Regions from separate parts of the Homo sapiens genome. Here regions 1, 2 and 3 are each linked to region 4. The links are contacts of gene promoters, found by promoter capture Hi-C in blood cells and fetal thymus (Javierre and others, 2016). All regions are on one chromosome and are shown on one strand. The core of a region is centred on a gene start or on the middle of the fragment in contact, and the rest is flanking DNA. Distances in the headings are between cores, read along the strand shown. Region 1 overlaps NAA35 (N-alpha-acetyltransferase 35, NatC auxiliary subunit). Region 2 overlaps TUT7 (terminal uridylyl transferase 7). Region 3 overlaps AGTPBP1 (ATP/GTP binding carboxypeptidase 1). Region 4 holds the start of IDNK (IDNK gluconokinase).

Region 1 (6,670 bases), core at 3,887-6,386, 2.3 Mb before region 4:
GTACTTAGGACAAACTAAAGGAAAATGTCTATACCCTAAAATATTCATATCTTTGTTCTCCTTAGCTCCCTTTTTGTATTATAACTTCTAAGAGACTTGAGGACAAGGGCTGTCTCTTTCATTTTTCTCTGGGAATCCCCACAACATCCAAAAACAGCACTCTGCACATACGGATATTCAATGAATGGTACTACAGAAAGAACATATGCTAAGATGAAAGCCCTTTCTTGGAGAGAACTGAATTACTTTACCCAATATATCTGTAAATGGCAACAGCATTACTTTTAAAAACTGTTTTTAAATATACACGTAGACGAAAGTACATATCACAAAATCATTTAAATACATCACAGTGAATAAGGTAGTCAATGAACTTCAGAAATTCTTTTTTCTTTCTTTTTTTTTTTTTTTTTTTGAGACAGAGTCTCGCTCTGTTGCCCAGGCTGGAGTGCAGTGGCACAATCTCAGCTCACCGCAACCTCTGCCTCCTGGGTTCAAGCAACTCTCATGCCTCAGCCTCCCAAGTAGCTGGGATTACAGATGCATGCCACCACACCTGGCTATTTTGTGTATTTTTAGTAGAGACAGTGTTTCACCATGTTGGCCAGGCTGGTCTCAAACTCCTGACCTCAGGTGATCTGCCCACCTTGGCCTCCCAAACTGCTGAGATTACAGGCATGAGCCACCGCACCTGGCCAAGGATTTCTTACATTACGAAATCTTACCTCTTCAAAAACAGCAGCTTTATTTACTTTTTCCCTTGCAATGTCACAGATTTTCAAGATTCCCAGAGCAAAAGCCTTCATAGCAGGATCTTCTATAAAGTCTGGATTATGAATGTAAAGGCACGTAAATACTGTCTGTGCCAGTGAATGGCCTTCTAACCACGTTATCTATAAAGAAACAAAAGAGTATATATTTAAGGTGATAAACTGAGTCTGCAAAGTCTAAATTGATCCTAGAGTCAAAGGCCAGAGCACCATAGACCCAAATAAGATTAATCACAAGACTTAAAAAAAAAAGACACGTTAGAATTCACTTTCATTGACTAACATTTTTCAAGTGTCTATGGGAATCATTGTCGTACATCAATCAGTTTGCAACATATTAGAGATTAATGAAATTAAGACTGCCTCTTTATGTAGCATCCAAAAGAAATCAACTCCACAATGTAGTCAATAAAAAAATCCATAAACTGGAAAATTCACAATTATAGAACTAACCAGATCCTTAGACACTCATTGAACTTTATAATCCTTACCACCACAACCCAGCCAACACCGTATCTCACCTAGATTATTTCAAGAAACTAGATAGGTTTTCCTGCCTCCCATCTCTAATTTAATACCCCCAACTAGAGATCTTTCTAAAACACTAAGATAATTGTTTTATACTATTTTACTAAGTGACCACTATATGTCTGGCACCATGTACTAGAGGTTGGGAATACCAACAATAGGCAAAATTGGGTAAGTACTGTGTCTCAAATATTATACTAGGTTATTTTCAAATATCTTATCTCATTTTTTTCCTAGCACTTTGAGAAAGGTGGTATTTTTCTCCTTTTATATGTAAAGAAACAGAGTAAGAGTTTAAATCATTTGCCCAAGTTTATAGTTATTTTTACCTTAAGCCCAAGAATTCTGCAGTAGAGTAAGACATACGCTACTGCATTGCAAAATGACAAATGTTTGTGGAAAACTCTGTAATTAAGGTGTGTATTTGGTATTAACTAGTGTGCAGAAGACAGACTTTCCAGACTAAAAACCATCTGCCTTTTAAAGTCCAAATTTTTAAATACAGTCCCAAGAGTCTCACAGAATAGTTCCTCAACTTTGGCAAAAATCCTCCCTCTGTTTATCCTTTCCTCCTTCTCCACCACTCTCCACTAATCCCACACTCCTCCTACTTGGCTCCCTGCCAGACTTAAGCAGCTATTTATGATTTTCCAAAATGAACATTTTCACATTGTCATGCCCATGCAATATACCCTCTTTGCCTACTAAACCATGAATCTTCCTGTCATACGCCTACCATTCTTTAGTACCTCACACCAGTATTAATTCCTTTCTACAGCCTTTCTTACTCTCTCAGACATAATTAACTCCTCCTCTCTGTTCCCACGGCACCGTCATAAAAGCATTTACATGTTGTCAGAATTGTTTATTCACATGTCTGTTCCCAGCAATCCTTTGACTCCTTTCTTTACTCCACCCACTAGGACTGTAAACTGCTAAAAGGTAATAAAGAAATCTTTGAGGGGGTAAAGAGACAGCTTTGGAAGATGAAGGATCAGGATTAAGATTCTGGCTAGGCCCCTCCCAAGCAATGTAATCACAGGCAGTAAGATAATACAGATATCTAATAAAGCTCATGTAAAACATAAGTGAAAACTATACATATAAAACACCTAATACAAGTACACACACTAGCAATCAATAAATGCTGAATGAACAAATGAATAAATTTTACATATTTCTAAGGAAAATGATTTAATGTCAATATAAAAAGAAAGGGATGGTCAGAAAGTGGGGCGGGGGGGAAGCAGTAGAAATGAGAATTTCTCGACAAACAGTACTTTCTAGGGAAGACATAATTCAGCATATACAAATCACTAAAAAAATTTTCTTCACAGGAGATGGCCAGTTTACTACAATTTATCCTAGATTAGAAAAAATCTCTCCAAAGCCATTGCATAATAGCTCTCTTTTGTTTCAATTCCATGCTTATTTATGAAACCTTCCAATTACAGACTTATCACTTGAGTAACTTGAGAACGAAAAGGGTATTATGAACCACGGCTATAATATTATCTTCATTGAAAAGAAAATATCCCTTCACCCAGAAAATTAGAATGTAAAATCAAGTAGATAACAAGATGAAATGCTATTACTAGGCCTGTTAATCTTATGCACATCTTTACTAGGGCAAGTATTACATTTATTTCATACTCAACATTAGTGTATAGGCTTTTAAATCACAAGATTCAGGTAAGTCACAGTTTTAAAATTAACCAATAGTCTTATTTCCATTCTTACCAAACAGCAAAAACATGTATCCATAATCCCTATCAGTTCAGGCAAGGTGAGATCTTTAATTTTAATAGTGCCATCCTAAAAAGGAGGAAGAATGTGACATATAAGCAGAAATTTTTTTAAACTTATGGTTACTATGTATAGTAGCATTTTGGATTTCTAACATTCAATATTTAAAAACAGCAATTCTAAGAAAATGCTATCTTATCATCTGATAAAACTATCACACCAAATTAACTCTGTACTCTTAAAAACAATATATCTTCTTATAAATTTTATTTTTAATTGACAAATAATAATTGTAAAAACAATATATCTTAGGTCTTCAACAAGAAATATCAAAATAAAGGCCTTTATATAAAATGAAAAGCCAAATCAACAAGTATTTTAAAAGCACAGTTCAAACCAGCTTTAAGTATTAATATAAATCATTTTAATGACCCAAAACTACTTAGAAAGAAAACTAAAGTTTTTTTTTTTGTTTTTTTTTTTTTGAGACAGAGTCTCACTCTGTCGCCCAGGCTGGAGTGCAGGTGGCGTGATCTCGGCTCAATGCAAGCTCCGCCTCCCGGGTCCACGCCATTCTCCTGCCTCAGCCTCCGGATTAGCTGGGACTACAGGCGCCTGCCACCACGCCCAGCTAATTTTTTGTATTTTTAGTAGAGACGGGGTTTCACTGTATTAGCCAAGATGGTCTTGATCTCCTGACCTCGTGATCCACCCACCTCGGCCTCCCAAAGTGCTGGGATTACAGGCATGAACCACCGCACCCAGCCGAAAACTAAAGATTTTTTAAAATGCTTCACTTAAGTTGGTTAACTATACTATTTGTAAATTTTGTTTACGATATCCATTTGCCTAGTAAATCTTTCTTTATAAAATATGTAAAATCAAACTCTATGGCAAGTATAAATGAATTTCTAAAGCAATTTTAAATTCACTACCACAAGTATTTTACTTGTGTAAATTTACTTTTATATATGAATATATTAATACACAAAATTTAACCCCCAAGCCAATTTTCCTATTTGAATATATAGTCAAATGCTTTCAAAAATTAAATTTAAAAGTACACAAATGCACAAATTTAGAGCAAGATTTTAATGAAGACCTCAATTTTCAGACTTTAACATACAAAGGTTATAACTAATTCTTGTTTATATGCTTGAGCTGCTTTGAAGGAAACAGACTTTAATACAACGTTTCATTTCATTATTAAGCACCATGTTTTAACAGGAAGTAACAAAAGATAAATGGAAACACAAAAAGTACAATGGTAACTACCTTGATAGCTTGTTCAAAATTGAGAACTTTTCGATTAACTTGGTTTCCAATCATGCCAGCATCCATCTTGGGATCCATCATTTCAATAGCAGACATGGCTTCAAAAAGACCAAATCTGCAAATAAAAAAATTGAGCCAACAAATTGTTTTTGAGCCAGTAAGCTTATTCATATTTTCACAACGGTATAAAATTATACTACTTTTAATAACTAAAGTATTCTATGCATTTAGTCTTCTCAACTTGCTAACACTTCTATTTCAATTAACTGTCGACTGACACAGAAATTATTTCATGTACTTGCCACTCAAATTATTTCACATGCACTGTGAGGAAGAAAAAGATTTCTGCCGGGTGTGGTGGCTCACACCTGTAATCCCAGCACTTTGGGAGGCTGAGGCGGGTGGATCACCTGAGGTTGGGAGTTCAAGACCAGCCTGACCAACATGGAGAAACCCCATCTTTACTAAAAATACAAAATTAGCTGGGTGTGGTGGTGCATGTCTGTAATCCCAGCTACTTGGGAGGCTGAGGCAGGAGAATCGCTTGAACCCGGGAGGCGGAGGTTACGGTGAGCTGAGATTGCACTGTTGCACTCCAGCCTGGGCAACAAGAGTGAAACTCCCTCTCAAAAAAAAAAAAAAGAAAATATATAAGATGTCTGTGGTCTCACACTAGACCTAATAAAGAATTCTCGGGGTAGGACCCAGCAATCTACGCTTTAATAAGCCCTCCAGACAATTCTGGCACACGCTCAAATCTGAGAAGAACTGAATTTCAGATTCTACTTCCCCTTCCCTGCAACCACAATGTCCAATCTTGTCTACTTACTAATTAAAAGTTTCATATTCCTAACCTTGAAAATTGAGCCTGGCCATGGCAGTATAGGAACTGGGGCTACATATGGGCATATAAAGACGAACAAGTATTTCCATTTATTTTGTTTTTCCAAGGTGCTATTGTTTGCATGTGGTTTGCCTCCACCAAAATTCATGTTAAAACTTGATCCCCAATGCGGCAGTGTTGGGAGGTGAGGCCTAGTGGGAAGTGTCTGGGGCATGGGGAAGAATCCCCATGAATAGATTAATGCCCTCCCAGGGAGGTGAGTTCTTGCTCTCCCAGGAACGAATTACAGTTGACCCTTTCACAACATGTGTTTGGATTGCAGGAGTCCACCTAGACAAAGGTTTTCTTGCACCTGTGCCACCAGAGACTGCAAGACTAACTTCCTCTTCCTTCCTCAGCCTACTCAACATGAATATGACAAACATGAAAACCTTTATGATGATCCACTTAATGAACAGTAAGTATATTTTCTCTTCCTTATGATTTTCTTCATTACATTTTCTTTTCTCTAGTTTATTCTAAGAATACAGTATATGGCACATATGACATACAAAATATGTGTTAATCAATGGTTTATGTTATTGGTAAGACTTCCAGTCAATGATAGGCTACCAGTAGTTAAGCTTTTGGGGGAGTCAAAGGTTATACGTGGATTCTTGACTGTGAGGGGGTGGGTCGGCACCCCAATCCCCAAGTTGCTCAAGGGTCAACGATACTACCCAAGAGGGTGGTTTGTTTTAAAGACTCTGACTTCCTCGGGTTCTCTCTCTTGCGTCCTCCTCTGCCATGTGATCTCCTTGCACCACATGCCACTCCCCACTGCTCCCCTTCTGCTTTCCACCATGAGTTGAAGCAGCCTAAAGCTCTCACTAGACGCAGTTGCCCAGTCTTGAACCTTCCAGTCATCAGAATTGTATGCCAAATAAATCTCTTTATAAACTACCCAGTCTCAGGTATTCAGCTACAACAACACTAAACTGACTAAGACACAGGGATTCTCATTTACTTTTATCTAGGCACTTAGTCACCCAATTTCTGGTTATCAAGCAACCTATCACATATGACATACAACTGATATCTTTTATTCAAGAAATTCCACATTCATTACATCTGCTCTCAAGGAAAGGACCATAAGTTACAGTTTCCCTAGGTATAACCATTTCACATCACAACTAGGGTCAGCTGCCCCAAAATAGCTCATCACAGTTAAAAATATATTTATAATTAGTTTTATTTTCACAATTTTGAAACGTAAATTTACTCAAACTTCAGGGAATATTACTCCACATGAGGAAAAAAAAACAGACTGAAACATTACACTACACTATTTTCAAAGGATAAATACTTACAGCTTATCATGAAGTAGTTCTCCCAACTTTAATTCTAAAAAAAAAAAGAGAAAAACCCTTTGAACATATTTATATTTAACTTTTAATTCTAAGAAAAAAAAGACATTAGCACCTGAAAAGATGTGCTTGTATTACTTTAAAATTCATTTTCTAAGAAA
Region 2 (5,996 bases), core at 535-3,034, 2.7 Mb before region 4:
CTGTATTACTGTCCAGGTGGGATGTGGGTATTTAATTTTGTTACCTATAGTCTTGTAGAAGTTGATCTTGAAAACCATTTCATTTTATTATTATTATTCTCTTTTTTGAGATGGAGTCTCGCTCTGTAGCCCAGGCTGGAGTGCAGTGGTGCGATCTTGGTTCACTGCAACCTCCATCTCCCAGGTTCAAGCAATTCTCTTGCCTCAGCCTCCTGAGTGGCTGGGACTACAGGCACGTGCCACCACACCTAGCTAATTTTTGTATTTTTAGTAGAGTTGGGGTTTTAGCATGTTGGCCAGGGGTAGTCTCGATACCCTGACCTCATGATCTGCCTGCCTTGACGTCCCAAAGTGTTGGGATTACAGGTGTGAGCCACTGCACCCGGCTGAAAAGCATTTTAAAAAGAAAGTTTATAGATCAAAAATTTGCAACTAGACATTAAAAGGAACTGTTGGCTGACCACAAAAACTTTTATATGTTTTCTTATTTTATGTGTATTCTTATAAAAGCAACTAAAGAAGTTGCTTTTAAGTGTATTTGAATAGGAAATGCATTTTGCTATTTTTTTATTGGAGGTAATTCAAAAGTTTGCATGTTTTTGCTGTATGACATACAGGTATATGCTTTCACAGTTATTAAGTAAAGAATTATTCAGTTTCTATCCCTTGAAAATCTTCATATAGGAAGCATTAAGCTTCGGTATAACATTATTTAGTTTAGAGAGATTCAACTGAAAGTATAAACTAAAAAGGATCTCATTAAAGAGATCGAAATTTCTTTATCAAAATTGTGTCTTAATAAGGAAGGGTATTATTCAACAATGTGAGAAGATATAATGGAAATTATGGTGGAGTTGCTTTTTTCCCCCCCACATACGGTACTACCTTCTGTTTTTTTCAGCTCTACATTACTGCCCCTACTTTAGCCTTCAAATGTCCTAGATTGCCAGTTTAATGTATTTGGGACATTGCCATTAATGATCTTAGCTGGAAAGCATCCACTCAAATACACATGTCCTTTGTGAACCATATGCAAATAAAATATGGGAAACTTGGAATGCCGAATATAGAGAACTCTTATTACAATAAATCTGAGGTAAGCCAGGTAGTCTTCCTCCAAGTAATTATGAGAATTTTTCTTTTTTCTTTTTTTTTTTTGAGATGGAGTTTCACTCTTGTCGCCCAGGCTGGAGTGCAATGGCATGATCTCGGTTCACTGCAACCTCTGCCTCCCGAGTTCAAGCAATTCTCCTGCCTCAGCCTCCCGAGTAGCTGGGATTACAGGTGCCTGCCACCACGCCCAGCTAATTTTTGTATTTTTAGTAGAGACAGGGTTTCACCATGTTGGCCAGGATGGTCTCGAACTCCCGACCTCAGGTGATCCACCTGCCTCGGCCTCCCAAAATGCTGGGATTACAGGCATGAGCTGCCACGCCTGGCCAAGAATTTTTCATCAGTACCTAGCTTTACCCTCCAAGAGTCCCTCCGGTGAGATTTTGACAGTTTTTACCATGCATGCCTGTGAAAGTAGGTTTAGAAGGTTATATTGCCTTTCAGTGCTAGTCCACTCTAGATGTGAATGGGTATGTTCCAAGAAGGGATTTTAGTAATTTCTTTCCAGTTTTTATGTTGTTAGTTAGAAGGCTGAATTTCAGGATTTCATCCTTTTTTTGTTTGTTTGTTTTTTAGACAGAGTCTCACTCTGTCACCCAGGCTGGAGTGCAATGGCGCAATCATGACTCACCACAGCCTCACCTCCTGGGCTTAAGCAGTCCTTCCGTCTCAGCCTCCTGAGTAGCTGGGACCACAGGAGTGAGTCATCTTGCTGGCTGATTTTTTTCATTTTTGCTAGAGATGACATCTCACTATGTTGTCCAGGCTGGTCTTGAACTTCTGAGCTCAAGCAGTCCTCCCACCTTACCCTCCCAAAGTGCTGGGAATTACAGGCATGACCCACTGCACCTGGCCCCATCCATATTTTAATCTATATTTTCAATCCCTTTACTTTGATTTAGCCATGTGTTCTTGGAGAAGTTATTCTCTTGGATTCGCATTGTCCCCATCTGTACAATGGGGACAGTATTAGCAGGATTGCTGTAGGGATTAAATAAGGCAGTACATATAAAGTGCTTTACATCTGTTGCATAATAAGATACACCATCATGGTAGCTGCCATTATCTGACAGAATTTCTGCAGCCATCCACTTCTGTATAAAAGCAGTAGGAGTTGATTGAGGTCTTTGGAGGAAGAGAGAAGTTACTCTTTCTAGAAAATGACAGCAAATATGGTTATATGGAGAAACCTTTGTGACCAGAAGAGAGGAAGAGTTTAAAAAAGGAATTCGGTTCCCTATCACTTACTGGCTTGTGAACTAATAGGGGCTTTTCTAAAGGGTATTGCAGTATTATTTTAAATTTATAGAGTTTTTGCCTAAGAAACCTGTAATAAACACTGAAGTTAGATGCAGTTTTTTTGATAATGTTTATAATGATAAGCAAACTAAATGAGAATGGATACATCTCTAAGTAAAAGAAGTGCTTATCTGAAAAAAAAAAATTGTTCAGACCAGAAATACTGGCCTTAAAAGATTATGATAATTTAATTGGGAGTCGGGGGAGTATTAAAAAGGAAATATTAAGGTAGCGCAAGGTAGCCTGATTTTCTGTTGAAATGACAACTTACCTTTTAGTATTTTATTTGTTCAGTGTATTTTGATTGATTTTTTAAAACTACTTTTCCAACACTTTAATTTTTTTTAATTTTTTAATTTTCTTATATTGTGGAAGGTGTTTGCAGAATTTTGAGATAGTCATCTCAGGTAGTTTTAGCACAATGCTTGCTGCTTATCCTTTAGCGCTCTCAGCAAGCTTTTTATAAAATTGGAGGTCCTATATTTCCTTTTCAGCCTGCCAGTTCATTGTAATTGCCATACTAGTAGTAATGAGTTCCTCTGAAAACTTGATGGAGGAATTACTTCATGTAGGGCTTTTCAGTAGGTTTATGTTTCCAAGCACTAATGTGTTACTAATAGTTTCATTTTTTAAAACTCGATATAAGTTATCAAAGCTATCTAAAACAATTTTTTATGGTTTAATCCCACAATCACTTTAACAAGTTGAAAAGTTATAAGTTTTAAAAAGGAACAGGATGATTTTTATTCATTATAAGGATTATAGAACTAATAGCAGAGTTTATAAACAAATGTACTTAGAGAAAACTTTTGTTTCAATGGCCAGTTGTTTTTTTCCTTTGAAATATGCTCAGTGTACAGGCCATTCAAAGAAGCTAAAATGAAGGTAAAGGTAAAATGAGAGATAGTTGTCCTTAGTAAATAAAATTTTGGCTTGGACTTCTTCATATTAACGGAGGGACCCGGCTTAGGTGTTATTGATGGCTAAATTTGCAACTAAATGATGATTTTTCACTCCAGATGAGTATATAGTTGATTTCTGAGTTGTCCAGGGGTACATTTTGCATTTTGCCTTATTGAGATTGTTCACTTATAGAAGATGAAAGCAAATGTGGCTGGTTTTAATGAGAATAACAGGTGTACTTACAGATATTATAGAATATGTAAGATATATTTACAATATGTATTGTAATATTTTAATATAATAGAATTATAGATATACTTGCCTTCAGAGTATAATTTTTCTGTTGCTTTGCTATGCTCAGCAGTATACCAGGAAGAGATAATAAAAATCAAATTGTATGATTGAAGTAGAATTCTTTTAAATTTTCCAAAAAGATGATTTCTATGGCTTAATGTCTACAGGTGATGTGCTCACTGAATACAGTATTAAAGCATTTTGTCCATAGGACAGCTACCTTTCCTTCTGCTCTGCATGCAGATGTGATTTATTCTCTCACATGATTTAATACATATGTAAGGTCTGCTTTTTACTCAGGAGTGGCATTATTTAATATTGCCAATAATATTTTTCCCCCACCTTAAGAAAACAAGAAGCAGAGGTCCAGACCTAGGAAGCCACGGAAGACTAGAAATGAGGAAAATGAGCAGGATGGAGACTTGGAAGGCCCTGTGATCGATGAGTCTGTACTTTCAACGAAGGAGCTGCTAGGCTTACAGCAGGCTGAGGAGAGACTGAAGAGAGACTGCATTGACAGGCTAAAAAGGGTAACATCCTTATATATATATTTGTTGGTTAGAATCCTGGTTTTAGCCTCAATTTTGTTGTTAATTGAGTATGCATGCTCTGATCAATTAGATATCCTACTTTGGTTATCAGTATTTAAGCACTACAAGTTAAAAGTGATGTCCAGTGTGATTTAATAGGATTAGGAGTCATTGCTATTATACTTAAAATGACTGTTAGGGTAGTGATAAAGGGAACAATAACAGTAGCAATTTTAAAAGTGAAGAAGAAGCCAGGCACAGTGGCATGCCTGTAGCCCCAGTTACTTGTGAGGTTGAGGCAGGAGGATTGCTTGAACTCAGGAGTTTGGGGCTGTAGTATGCTATAATGGTATCTGTGAATAGCCAGTTCACTCCAGCCAGGGCAACATAGTGAGACTCCTGTCTCTTTAGAGAAAAGAAATTGAAGGGGAAATCATTTCCTGGCTGATTTTGTTTATCTGAATGTTTGGTTTTACTTATGTCTCTCTCTAAATAAATCTCTTCAAATTATAGCGACCACGAAACTACCCTACAGCAAAGTACACCTGCAGACTCTGTGATGTTTTAATTGAATCCATTGCATTTGCCCATAAGCATATCAAGGAAAAGAGGCACAAGAAAAACATTAAGGTAAATTGAATGTAACCCAAACAAGTCTGCTTACTTGTTAGTTGTTATTACTTGTCATCTTTGTGGCTTTCTTCTCCTTAAGGCTATGATATTGATAACTTTACTGCTTTATTTATTGAATATATTTGAGCCAAAATACATAATACTGGTCAGATGTATTTTACTGGTTAATCTTGTGAATTTCCTTAAGGGCAGCATCAGGTTATATGAAGTCATTGATAGGACCCAGGTATATGTCCTTATACTAGTATTAAAGCAAACAATGTTTGTAAGTGCTGTTTTTAATATTCTTTCCTTACACTTTCTCCTTATGCCCACCTATCCTCTGTTACCACTGATCCACATTATGTGCATAAGGAAGTATGTATATGTTTGATAGGATGAAAACTAACACAGCTAAAATGAGAAGGGAGGGCTAAGAAAAAGAAAACTCTATAGGGTGTTGTCTTCATGAGTGGTAGAAGGTCAAAACTATGTGTAAGTCATTTTTAATCTCAACATTTGATCTTAAAAGGAGAAGCAAGAGGAAGAGTTGCTCACTACGTTACCCCCACCAACACCCTCCCAGATAAATGCAGTTGGCATTGCCATTGACAAAGTGGTACAGGAATTTGGCTTACACAATGAGAACTTGGAACAGAGGCTGGAAATTAAACGTATCATGGAAAATGTGTTCCAACACAAGTTACCAGGTATTTTCTAGATTTGTTTTTCTATTTAACTACCTAAAAGTACCTCATTCATTTCTCCTACCAATAGTAATTTTCATCAAATAAAAATTTATTTACCATGTCATGAAGCTCTTGTGTTTTCTATTTTTTTGTTTTTTGTTTTCCCTGGCTTTCCCTAAGGTAACAAGGACTTTCATATGCATTGTCATTATAAACCTGTTTCCATTATAAATTTTACCCTGTGTGTGAACTTTAAGTTGAATGCCCTGCATTATTGGGGCACTGTGGGACTCTTGTGTATGTATGTTTCCCTTTCCGCTCATCTAAATTGACACCATATTTTGAGTTAAAATCAAGAGAAGTATCCTGAAGTTATTTTCAGGTTATTCATGTCAAAAAAAAAAAAAAAGATTTTATTTAACTGTACTTAAGAGAATTGCAGCATCTAAAATGAACTTTGAAAACTAGTTTTAAGAAATTTGTATTGGATTTTGTGCACTGTTGAATTGATTTTCCAAGTTATGTCTGTCTTCTGCCTGTTTTTAACTTTAGACCT
Region 3 (5,722 bases), core at 2,589-5,088, 2.1 Mb before region 4:
AGGACTTTTGGGGGATGGAGCAGTATTAGTGCAGATTAATTCCACTATGACCCATTTGCTCCTTTGGGGTTAAATGAGAGCTTAGTCTCACTGTCCTGCCTCCTGCCTTGGAAACATGTAAGTCAGTTTTAAATAGAACAGCTAGACCCTGAGCTGGGTGCCCTGGGATGCTACTGGAGAGCTGTTGATAAATCCGTTTGTCCCTTCTGACAGAACCTTGGATTGTCTCCCTCCTGTTGGTGATGGCTGCTATTTTAATCTTTTAATCATCTGTTTTTGAGTTTGTGATTGGGTGTTTCTTTGACTATAATGTGCCGCTATCAAAAATGTGATCTGTCAAAATATTGGTAGGTATGTACTTGTTTATTTGATCAGAATATTGTATGTTGTTTCCAGGGCACACAAAATCAATTTTTTTAAGCATTCTTTTTTATCTAAGCATTTTCTTTTTTATTGATATTATATAGTGTGAAATCAGTTTTGATTTGACATTGTGTTCATTTTCAGCTTTCATATAATTTTCCTAGGAACTTTTTTTTTCCCTCCAGTATGATTTTACATACTTGTTCTTGGTTTGCAGGGATCTAATATTAAAACTCTAAATGCTTTCAAACTTTTGGTTAGGACCCTTTTACATTGTTAAAAGTTGTTGAGGATCCCCAAAAAGCTTTTGTGAATTTATCTATGTTTACTGTATTGTAAATGAAAAGGGAAATATAAATTGTCAGTTCACTTAAAATGACAATTATAAACTCTTTACATGTTAATATAAACACCCTATTTTTAATGAAAACAACTTTTTTTTAAAACAAAAAATAAGGTAGTGAGAAAAGTGGCATTGTTTTACTTTTTTTGTAAATCTGTCTGGTTTAATGGAAACAGCTGGATTATCATATCTGCTCCTGCATCCAGTCTATTGCAATATGTTGTTTGGGTTGAAATACATATGGAGAAAATCCAGTCTCACATAGTTAATGGCTAAACAGGGTGGGGAGGCCGGGGAGGGAGCATTTTAATAGCCTTTTCCGATAATTGTGGACATTCTTGTTTGGTATTATATTAAAACTCAGTAAGTGGCAATTTCTTAAAGGTTAGATGCCGTGAGAAATCCAGTAAGTGGATTTTTGCATGCTCTAGTAAAACCCATTGGTTGGAACTTTGAATGGGTCTTATACTCATTCCTGAGATTGTAACATCATTCCTTGGTCATTTGTAAATATTGGTTCAGTGTTATGCAGATCTTCCAAATGTTGACATCTTTCATCATGCAATATTAAAGAAAGTTATGGTTGTTAATATCACCACCCATTTTGTTAGAGACAAATTATTGGGAAGCTGTTTAGGTCTTGACATGACAATGGTGGATATGAGTTTTCCAGAATTCGGATTTTTGCTTGAAAGCTCAAATTTTATCATTGGCAACAAATGTGACTTGTTTACTTAAAGTGACAAGCTCAGTTTATTCATTTCTGAGAAAACCTCTGCCAAAATATTCCAATTTGAGTAACCATAGTCTGTCAATCATTCTTTCAGTCACTTTCATTAAAAAAGAGGCTAGTTCAAGCTGTCAATTCAGTTACAGAAGCACTTTACTTTGAGACAGCCATCAACTATTGTAATTCAGTATGTAGCAGAAATGGTTCATGGAAAGTTCCCATTTTGTCACATAAAAAGGTGCATAAAAATTAATAATTTTTACTGTTTCAAGGACATTCTTAAGTGACATTGGCTTTTTCTTGTCTTTTTATTTTTTATTTTTTGAGATGGAGTCTTGCTCTGTCGCCCAGGCTGGAGTGCAGTGGTGCAATCTCTGCTCACTGCAAGCTCCGCTTACTGGCTTAACGCCATTCTCCTGCCTCAGCCTCCCGAGTAGCTGGGACTACAGGCGCCTACCACCACGCCTGGCTAATTTTTTGTAGTTTTAGTAGAAATGGGGTTTCACCGCGTTAGCCAGGATGGTCTTGATTTCCTGACCTTGTGATCCGCCTGTGTCCGCCTCCCAAAGTACTGGGATTAGAGGCGTGAGCCATGGCTGGCTTTTTCTTGTTTTATAATTGTTGGTGGTTGATGGTGACTTTAACTCAGTCCAAGATGCCAGTAATTTTAAGATTTTAAATTTTAGTATTATACAAATAGTTTTGAACTTGTGGGTCCCCTAAAAGAGTGTCAGGACCACAGGGGCCCACGCACCGTGCTTTTAGAACTTCTGGATTTAAATCTTAAAGAGGCTTTCTCACAAACGTTTGATTAAGAAGTGAAGTGGTAGTGACAGTCTCTTGTTTGCTTTTGTTTTACGCTTTGGGTAAAGGTAAAGGTCTTATTAAAAAAAAGTATTATAGCTAGATAGTAGGAATAAGCTCTACAGTGTTCTCTAGCACTATAGGATGACTGTAATTGATAATATATACTTTCGAATAGCCAGGAGGATATCAAATGCACAGAAATGATAAATGTTTGAGATGATGGATTTGCTAATTACCCTGATCTGATTGCTATACATTACATGTATCAAAAGATCACTGTGCCTCATAAATACATATGATTATTATGTGCCAGTTAAAAAATTTAAAGAAAAATATTTTAACATACAAAATTAAGTACAATAAAGGTTATTCACAGAAAGTTTCTTAATGGTTTTAGTCAGGTGCTGATACAATGGGATTATAGTATTAGTAATCTGAATACCATCTAAAAACAAAAATCAGACCCGGTAGTACATTTCTATATAAATGTTCAAATTTAACATTTTGGGAATGTAAATATTAAACAGTGAAGGCACAACGTGAAAAGCTCCACTAATATCTAACTCATAAGTTTAAAAAAAAGTGACCTGGTTTCCCTTCTTAATCTCTGCTCATTTCTCACTTAATTCATGCTGAGAATGAACTGCCCTATGGAGAAATTCCAGGCACTTGCTGTCTTTGCCTCACATTTTTCCTTAAGGGGAAAATGATTTAAAATTATGAAGATTATAAGGATATTGGTTATATAGGGATTAAAAACAATAATAAAGTCAGCCAGAGGGATTTATGGTCGGATAATGTTAATAAAAATCTGAACACTGCCTACATGTAATAGAGTTTAATGAATTAAAAAATATTATTTTAACAAGAACTCTTTAGGTTTATTAATTTATGGTCAACACACTTTCTAGACTCCTTTTTGGTGCATGGTGAAAACTAATCTCTCACCTTTTAATTTAATCTTATTGATTTTAACTTTTATTTATATTTGAAACAACTTTTTTCCCAATTTTTAACACAAGGTTCATATTTTGATCTTTAAAAAAATATTTATTTTAAAAATTGGTGGTAAAACATATATAACATAAAATTTACCATTTAAATCACTTTTAAGTGTGTAGTTTAGTGGCATCAAGTATATTCACATTGTTGTGCGGCAGCCACCACCATACATCTATGGAACTTCTTTTATCTTCTCAAATTGAAACTCTGTATATATTAAACAATTACTCTCCCCCTCCCCCATAATCCATTCCCTGGCAGGCACTGTTCTATTTTCTGTTGCTATGAATTTGACAACTCTGAGTAGGTCACATGAGTGGAATCAATCATACAGCGTTTATCTTTTTGTGACTGGCTTATTTCATTTAGCACAATGTCTTCAAGGTTCGTTCATGTTGTACCGTGTGTCAGGACTTTCTTTTTAAGGCTGGATAATCTGTTATATGTATATACCAGATTTTGTTTATGCATTCATCCGTTGATGAATGGACACTTGGGTTGCTTGTGAATAATGCTGCTTTGAATCTAGGTATGTAAACATCTCTTCAAGACCTTGCTTTTTATTTATTTATTTTTAAAATTTTTTTAGATGGAGTCTCGCTGTGTTGCCCAGGCTGGAGGGCAGTGGCGCGATCTCAGCTCACTGCAACCTTTGCCTCTGGGTTCAAGTGATTCTCCTGCCTCAGCCTCCTAAGTAGCTGGGACTACAAGTGTGTGTCACCATGCCTGGCTAATTTTTTTTTGTATTTTTAGTAGAGACGGGGTTCTACCGTATTAACCAGGATGGTCCCTGTCTCCTGACTTCATGATCCACTTGCCTCGGCCTCCCATGGAAGACCTTGCTTTCAGTTCTTTTGAGTATATACCCGGAAGTGGAATTGCCAGATTGTATGGTAATTCTATTTTTAATTTTTCAAGGAACCTTCATACTGTTTTTCATAGTGGCTGCACCATTTTATATTCCTATCAATAGTGCACAAAGATTCTAATCTATGCACATCAACACTTACTATTTTGTGTTTTTGTTTTGTTTTTGGTAGCAGCCATCCTAATAGCTACGAAGTGATATCTTGTAGTTTTGATTTGCCTTCATGTTGCTGTATTTGGTTTCCTAGTATTTTGTTGAAGAGTTTTGCATTAATGGTCATAAAGAATACTGGTCTGTCATTTTCTTGTAACATCTGTCTGACTTTGGTATCAGGGCTGTACTGGCCTTATAGAATGAGGTAGGAAGCGTTCCTTCTTCACTTTTCTGGAAGAGTTGAAAAGAACTGGACTTTTTTTTTTTTAAGTATTTTGTAGAATTTACCAGTGAAGCCATCAGATTCAGGGCTTTGCTTTGTAAGGAGGTTTTTTTGTTTGTTTGTTTCAGACGGAGTCTCTCTTTGTCGCCAGGCTGGAGTGCAGTGGTGCCATCTTGGCTCACTGCAACCTCTGCCTCCTGGGTTCAAGCGATCCTTCTGCCTCAGCGTCCTGAGTAGCTGGGACTACAGACACGCGCCACCACGCCCAGCTAATTTTTTGTATTTTTAGTAGAGACAGGGTTTCACCATGTTGGCCAGGCTGGTCTCGATCTCTTGACCTTGTGATCCGCCCACCTTGGCCTCCCAAAGTGCTGGGATTACAGGCGTGAGCCACCGTGCCCAGCCTGTAAGGAGGTTTTTAATTACTGATTACATCTCCTCAATAGTTATGGGTCTATTTAGATTTTCTATTCCTTTGTGGTTCAGGCTTGGTAGGTTTTGTGTTTCTAGGAATTTATCTCATCTAGGTTATCCAATTTGTTGGTGTACTGTTGTTCACAGTACTCTGTTATAATCCTTTTTGGTTTTGTGGAATTGGTCATGAATGTCTCCCCTTTCATTTCTGATTTTAGTAATTTGAGTCCTCTCTCTTTTAAATCTTGCTAAAGGTTTGTCAGTTTTGTTAATCTTTTCAAAGCACCAACTTTTGGTTTTGTTGATTTCTTTATTGTTTTTCTAGTCTCTATTTTAATTATTTCTCCTCTGGTCTTTTTTATTTTCTTCCTTCTGCTCACTTTGGGTTTAGTTCTTCTTTTTGTAGTTCCTTAGTTGTAAAGATAGGTTGTTTTGAGATCTGTCTTCCTTTTTAATGTGTTTATGTCTATAGATTTTCTCCTCAGCACTGCTTTTGCTATATCCTGTAAGTTTTGGTATGTCATGTCTTTGCTTTCATTTGTGTCTATTTTCTGGTTAACCCAGTGATTTCTTCTTTGATTCATTGGTTAAGAGTACGTTGTTTAATTTCCATAAATTTGTGTATTTTCCAGTTTTCTTTCTCAGATTGATTTCTAACTTAATCCTGTTGTGAGGTTGGAGAGCACACTTTGTATGATAAATATCTTTTAAAAGCAATTGAGACTTAATTTGTATCCTAATATGTGGCCTGTTTTGGAGAATGTTCTGTGTGCACTTGAGAGGAATTTATATTCTGTTGTTGAGTACCTTGTTCTAAAT
Region 4 (5,847 bases), core at 1,013-3,512:
AAGTCCCTCTCCTCTGAACTTCAGACTTGGACATCCAACCACCATCCACTGGATGACTAATTGGCTCGTCCAAGTCACCATATCCCACACTGAGCTTCTGAGGTTGTCTTCCAAATCTGCTCTATCTACTGCTTCCCCAAATCAGTTTGTGGCGACTCCCTCCTTCCAATTACTCAGGCCTAAAATCTTGAATCATCCTTGACTTCTCTCTTGTCTTCTTACACCCAACATCCAGTCCACAAACACATCTTTCTGACTCTACCTTCAAAATATTGCCAGCATATGACCACATTCTCTTTACCTGCATTGTTTCTGACTTCATCTCCCATCATGCTTCCCCTCACTCAGCCACAATGGGTTCCTTCCTGCTCCTTAAAGAAGCCAAGCCTTAGCTGGGCGCGGTGGCTCACGCCTGTAATCCCTGCACTTTGGGAGGCTGAGACGCATGGATCACCTGAGGTCAGGAGTTTGAGACCAGCCTCGCCAACATGATGAAACCCCGTCTCTACTAAAAATACAAAAAATTAGCTGTGCATGGTGGTGGGCGCCTATAATCCCAGCTACTTAGGAGCCTGAGGCAGGAGAATTGCTTGAACCCGGGAGGAGGAGGTTGCATTGAGCCAAGATTGCACCACTGCACTCCAGCCTGGGCAACAGGAGTGAAGCTCCGCCTCAAACAAAACAAAACAAAAAAAAAACAAAAGAAGCTAAGCCTCAGAACCATTGCACCTGCCATTCCCTCTGCCTGTCCTGCCCTTTCCTCAGCTATCCACATGGCAGGTTCCTCAAGTCTTGCAGGTCTTTGCTGAAACGCCACTCCCCCAGAGGAGACATCCCTGACCACTCTGCCTGGCACTCTTTGTTCCCCTTACTCCAGAGCATCTATCACCAACTCACACACTACATATATTCATTTACTCTGTCTCCCATACCAGAATGTAAATCCTTTGAGGGCAGGGATTTTATCTGTCCTGTTCGCTATATGACAATGACATAGAGTAAGGATTGAGCTCAATAATTACTGAGTACATGAATATCACAAGCTATACATCATAGGGATTAGGCCTCCCTCATCTGATTCAAGACTCAGAGGGGGTACATGAACTGCCCAGGCTCACACAGCCAGACAGCAACAGAACCAAGACCTAGGGCTCTTCACTCCTGTTACATCACACCATGGCAATGATTTTACATTCTCCAACTGATTCAAATCATATGGCAGCTAGGGATTTGGGGGCTCCATGTTTTATTTCAATTGCAGTTCAAGATTTCTTTTTATCTTTGTGGCTGAGAACCCTACAATAATTTTGGAAAGCAAAACCCATCTACCTGGAGTAAATCTTTAATATACACCTGACTACACAGGCCACAACATGGGCCGTTCCTGATTCAGAAAATTCTAGAAGGGTCCTATAGGCCCTTGAAGGTTATGATGTTTTAGCTGATCAAGTTCTGTCCTTTGCTGCCTGTGGTCGAATGGTACAGCAGCTGTCTTTTCTGATAAAGGGCACAGTTAGACTTTGGTTTAAACAGGAAGCCAAATGTTAACTCCTCAGTCTCCAGGTTAGCACACTGGGCTACCTCTGTGGTTTCCACAATTCTCTTCTTTCTTTCCAAACCCTCAGGAGCCACCCTCCATATTAACGCTGTCTCCTTCCAGGTTAAGCTGATGAAAGGAAGGGGAAAACGATTCACTTTCCAAAATTGAATCGGAGAAGTCCAGGGCCTCATAGGAGGAGGCCGCTGTGTGTCCAGATGGCCAAAGGTCTGTGAGAGCCTGGGCCGTGGTTTGCGTCCTCTCGCTAGAGGCCGTGCGCCCTCCCGCCTGGCCCCGACAAGGCGCCCCGAAACCTAGCCCCGCGCCGCTCGCTAGGCCTCCACCTGCGCGGCCCCGCAGCCGCCTGTTCAGGAGCGGCTTCCTCCCTGAGCCTGCGGTCGCCGCAGCCTCCCCGTCTTAGAGCGGGAACCCGGAGCTCGGATGCGGTCCCAGGATGGGCGCCCCGCGAGCAGGCTGGAGGGCGGGGAGAGGGCGCGGCAGCCGCGGGCCTCGGTTTCTTCATCTGCAAAGGGAAGGGTGGGGGGTCCCCAAGACCCCAGTCCACCGGCAGGGACGGCGACGCGTCCGGCCTCCGCCGCGCCCGCAACACTTGTCCCGGGCGCCCCCCGCCCTCTCCCGGACCTACTTCCCCGAGCCGCTCACGCCCATCACCAGCAGCGCGCCCGGCGCCGCCATAACCCAAGCTCGGCTCCTTCCCGTCGCCTTCCGGGCCCCGCCGGCCCCGGCCTACCCGGCGCTCGAGGGGCGGAGCCGCTCTCGCCCCGGCCGGGGCAGTGAGGGCCGTGCCCCTCTGCGCCCTCCCCGTTTTCCCGCGCCCCTTTTCCATGCTTTCCTCCTCCCTTTCCCAACCTCCCGGCCTCTCTCTCCTGCCCCTTCTTTTCCTCTCCCCTCCCCTCCCTCTTTCCTCTTCCCGGAAGTGAAGCGCGCGCCCGGCCTGGCACTCGCGTCTCCCTGGGCTGGAGGGAGCCGCCCAAAGCCCCGCCACCTGTCGTTCTACTGCCCCGGCCCCTCTTGGTTCCAGAGGATCCTCACCCTGGCAGGCCGGATCCTCATCCACCCATGGAAAGCATTCATTCATTCATTTATAAAAATGTTCTTGTAAAAAGAATAAACAGAAAATAAGACTCATAATTTCCCACACCAGGCAGCAATAAGCAGCACTTCCTAAAACGACTCCCCTTTCCCCGCGCCCCGTCGTAGATAGATGGGTATGAGTATTTTGTAAAACTGGGATCAGGCCGTACACAGCGTTTTGTAATCTGGCCTTTTGTCACAATAATAAATGGCGGCCATCTTTTGGTGTCAAACTTAGGGTTGAGTGTTGACCGTAGCAGCATATGTCTTGGCTGTATGGCTCTGCTGTTAAATCCAGCACTGGTTGGGGCTTTAAGAGGAAGGAGCACCACTTTAAAGTGTCCATTTGCTTTAAAACAATGTTAATTATGTGTCGTTTGAACTATTTGATTAAAAGCACTTCTTTTTTTTTTTGAGACGGAGTCTCGCTCTGTCGCCCAGGTGGGACTGCGGACTGCAGTGGCGCAATCTCGGCTCACTGCAAGCTCCGCTTCCCGGGTTCACGCCATTCTCCTGCCTCAGCCTCCCGAGTAGCTGGGACTACAGGCGCCCGCCACCGCGCCCGGCTAATTTTTTTTGTATTTTTAGTAGAGACGGGGTTTCACCTTGTTAGCCAGGATGGTCTCGATCTCCTGACCTCATGATCCACCCGCCTCGGCCTCCCAAAGTGATTAAAAGCACTTCTAACCGCATTTGGCATCACCTCCTTTGGTCTTTTGTTAACCAAGGTAGGTATTACTCTGTGTCCTAGAAAACAATAAAAGTGACATAAAAGCATTTATCTAATGAATAGTTCAATTACCCCTGCACTGCCTTTGTTTTTCATATACTTAGCCCGAGTAGGTGAGATTTCAATCTGGATGGGGGCTGTACAGGTGAAGAAATTGAGGCTTGGAGAGAGGTCTTACAATTCAGTTATGGTCAATACACATTTCTTGAACATCTACCATGTGCTGGTTAATATCATATTAATATTCATTTAAAAGATTACCCTCTAGGCATTCTCAAGCTTGATAAGAGGAATAGATGTGTATGCAAATACTCTTAACTCGTGCCCTGCTTCGCTAGCTCAGTATGAAAAAAAAAAGCTCATATTTCTTTCAATGTTCAAATCAGAATGATTAGCAGAAAATCTGATTCTTCTCCTTGGATTTCTTTCCCCAGACATGTCCAAGGATCTTAAACTTGCTGTGCTGCTCAGGGTGGTGGCAGGAAACAGCATGCTCAAATTGGGGCAGGTGAACAGGATTTAACAAAGGGACTATTAGCACAGGTGTGGGTAGGGTCAGAAAAAGCAACTAGGGGCAGAGTCCACATCTGAGTAACCGAGAAGTGTTTTCACTCTTAAATAGAAAGGGGCTGATGAGAGGGAGCCTTTATATGGGAAGGGAAGAGAATGGAAGGAGAGAGACAGAGAGAATAGACCATATAGAAAGAAGTGTCTGACAGGACTGTAGCCTTAGGAAGAGAGAGATAGACATTCCTTGTTGACCCAGCAGAAAAATAATCAGGAGAATAAATAACCTCCCCTCCCCTCCTCTTGCCCTGTGATCTCCTGCTCGTGGCCAAACCCCACCAGCCAAACCCAATTGGAAGGTGGAGAGCTAGGGAGTCCGGCGGTGCCCATGCATGCCAATTTCCTGGGCTCAGAGCAGGGAAGAGAAGGGTGGAGATTGTATCTGGAGGTACCAATGAAAGATACCCAGCATGCCAGTGTCAGTGAAACTCTGTGCCTGCTTCCAGGACAGCGGAACTTCAAAGGTGCCCCTAAGAGCTGAATTCCACGTTTTTTTTTTTGCTTTCCAAAGAGTGCCACCTGCTGGTCCTGGTTGTCTCGGTGCTTCCCAGCTGTTACTATGGGGCAACCCAGATGCTGAATATTGGTCTGGTTTTAGGTCCTGTCTACTGCAAGAACTGTTGTACTGAGGCACATGGTACTCTGGAAACCCCGAGTCCCTAGCGAGGCACAGCTTCTTGCATGCGTTTCTATAGTCACTCAAGTCCAGATCACCCCCAGATTCTGGACAGCATGTACTGTAAGTCTCAAACAGAAATGGCAGCGCTCCTGTATGAAGCTGACCATTTCCACAGCGGTTAAACAGAGCTCAGTGACGAGCACCTTAATGCGCACAGGCACTTCCCTGGGAGGCAAATCATCCACAAAGATGGCTGGGTTGGGACAGATATTCACATACCAGGAGCCTCACAGCTCTGATATGTCTAATTGAGAAGAGTTTGGATCTTCCCCCTTTCCCTTCCAGGAGAGTCCTTGATCCCAGTTTAATTCTGAGAGTTCAAATAGATGCATGAAAGAGCTTAAAAGTCAAATCCCAGGTCTTAGCCAAGTAGCTTGTTACACTTTCTTCTGGAAGTAATGGCTGTATACTTGCTTCACATCTTCATAATTAAAAGTGGCCACTCTAAAGATCCAGAACAAAGTTTGCAGAAAGGCAAAATGGTATCTGTTATCTCAATAGATGTAAAACAAAAGCACTTCACAGAATTCAACTTCCCTTTGTGATCAAAATACTCAACAAACCAGGAATACAAAATTCCCAACTAGATAAAAAGTATCTGTGAAACCCCAGGTAACATCATACTTAATGGTGAAAAGACTGAATGTTTCTCCCTATGATCAGGAACAAGGCAAGAATGTCTTCTCTCACCGCTTCTATTCTACATTCTGTTAGAGGTTCTAGCCAGGGCAATTGGATAAGAAAAAGAAATAAAAGGCATCCAGATTGGAAAAGAATATGTAAAACTATCTCTATTTCCAGATCACATGATCTTGTTTATAGAAAACCTAAGGAATCCACAATAAACCTACTAGAGTTAATAAGTGAGATCAGGAAAGTGACAGGTTACAAGATCAGTGTATAAAATCAATTGTAATTCTAAACAATCTGCAAGGAAAAAATTAAAAAAATTTTCATTTACAAGAGCATCAAAGAGAACAAAATAATTAGAAATTTAACAGAAGTATAAAATGGTAGTCTGAAAACGACAAAACATTTTTGAAAGAAATTAAAGGAGGCCTAAATAAATGGAAAGACAGCCTGTTTTCATGATTTGGAAGACAATATTTTTGAGATGGCAACACCCTCCAAATTATACAGATTCAACACAATCCTCATGAAAATCCCAGCTGGCTCCTTTGCAGAAACTGAGAAGCTGATTCTGAAGTTCATATGGAAATTTGAAGGAGATAGAAAAAT

The links. The method cuts DNA at HindIII sites, captures the fragments that hold promoters and counts their contacts. A CHiCAGO score of 5 or more calls a contact.
Region 1: a fragment that was not itself captured here is called in contact with the fragment with the promoter of IDNK in region 4 in 1 of 17 cell types (activated CD4 T cells); the score reaches 6.7 in activated CD4 T cells.
Region 2: a fragment that was not itself captured here is called in contact with the fragment with the promoter of IDNK in region 4 in 1 of 17 cell types (total CD4 T cells); the score reaches 8.0 in total CD4 T cells.
Region 3: a fragment that was not itself captured here is called in contact with the fragment with the promoter of IDNK in region 4 in 1 of 17 cell types (total CD4 T cells); the score reaches 6.8 in total CD4 T cells.

Annotation. Positions count from the first base shown.
Region 1 is chr9:85,956,236-85,962,905 of GRCh38, reverse strand. It overlaps NAA35 (N-alpha-acetyltransferase 35, NatC auxiliary subunit), which reads right to left. Exons shown (of 23, transcript NM_024635.4): 3 at 6,513-6,546; 4 at 4,320-4,434; 5 at 3,039-3,113; 6 at 726-893. Among named protein-coding and RNA genes, the nearest start is that of NAA35, 18 kb to the right of the region's middle. The HindIII fragment of the contact is 1,305 bases long and covers 4,484-5,788 here.
Region 2 is chr9:86,344,442-86,350,437 of GRCh38, reverse strand. TUT7 (terminal uridylyl transferase 7) reads left to right here. Exons shown (of 27, transcript NM_024617.4): 3 at 3,958-4,139; 4 at 4,653-4,769; 5 at 5,284-5,461. Among named protein-coding and RNA genes, the nearest start is that of TUT7, 7.0 kb to the left of the region's middle. The HindIII fragment of the contact is 2,173 bases long and covers 698-2,870 here.
Region 3 is chr9:85,733,144-85,738,865 of GRCh38, reverse strand. The region is part of intron 1 of AGTPBP1 (ATP/GTP binding carboxypeptidase 1); the gene reads left to right. Among named protein-coding and RNA genes, the nearest start is that of AGTPBP1, 5.9 kb to the left of the region's middle. The HindIII fragment of the contact is 6,338 bases long and covers 670-5,722 here.
Region 4 is chr9:83,619,558-83,625,404 of GRCh38, reverse strand. IDNK (IDNK gluconokinase) reads right to left here and starts at 2,262. Exons shown (of 5, transcript NM_001001551.4): 1 at 2,184-2,262. The coding sequence starts at 2,233. RefSeq lists enhancers at 1,658-1,707, 1,728-1,857 and a silencer at 2,038-2,567. The HindIII fragment of the contact is 10,566 bases long and covers 1-3,643 here.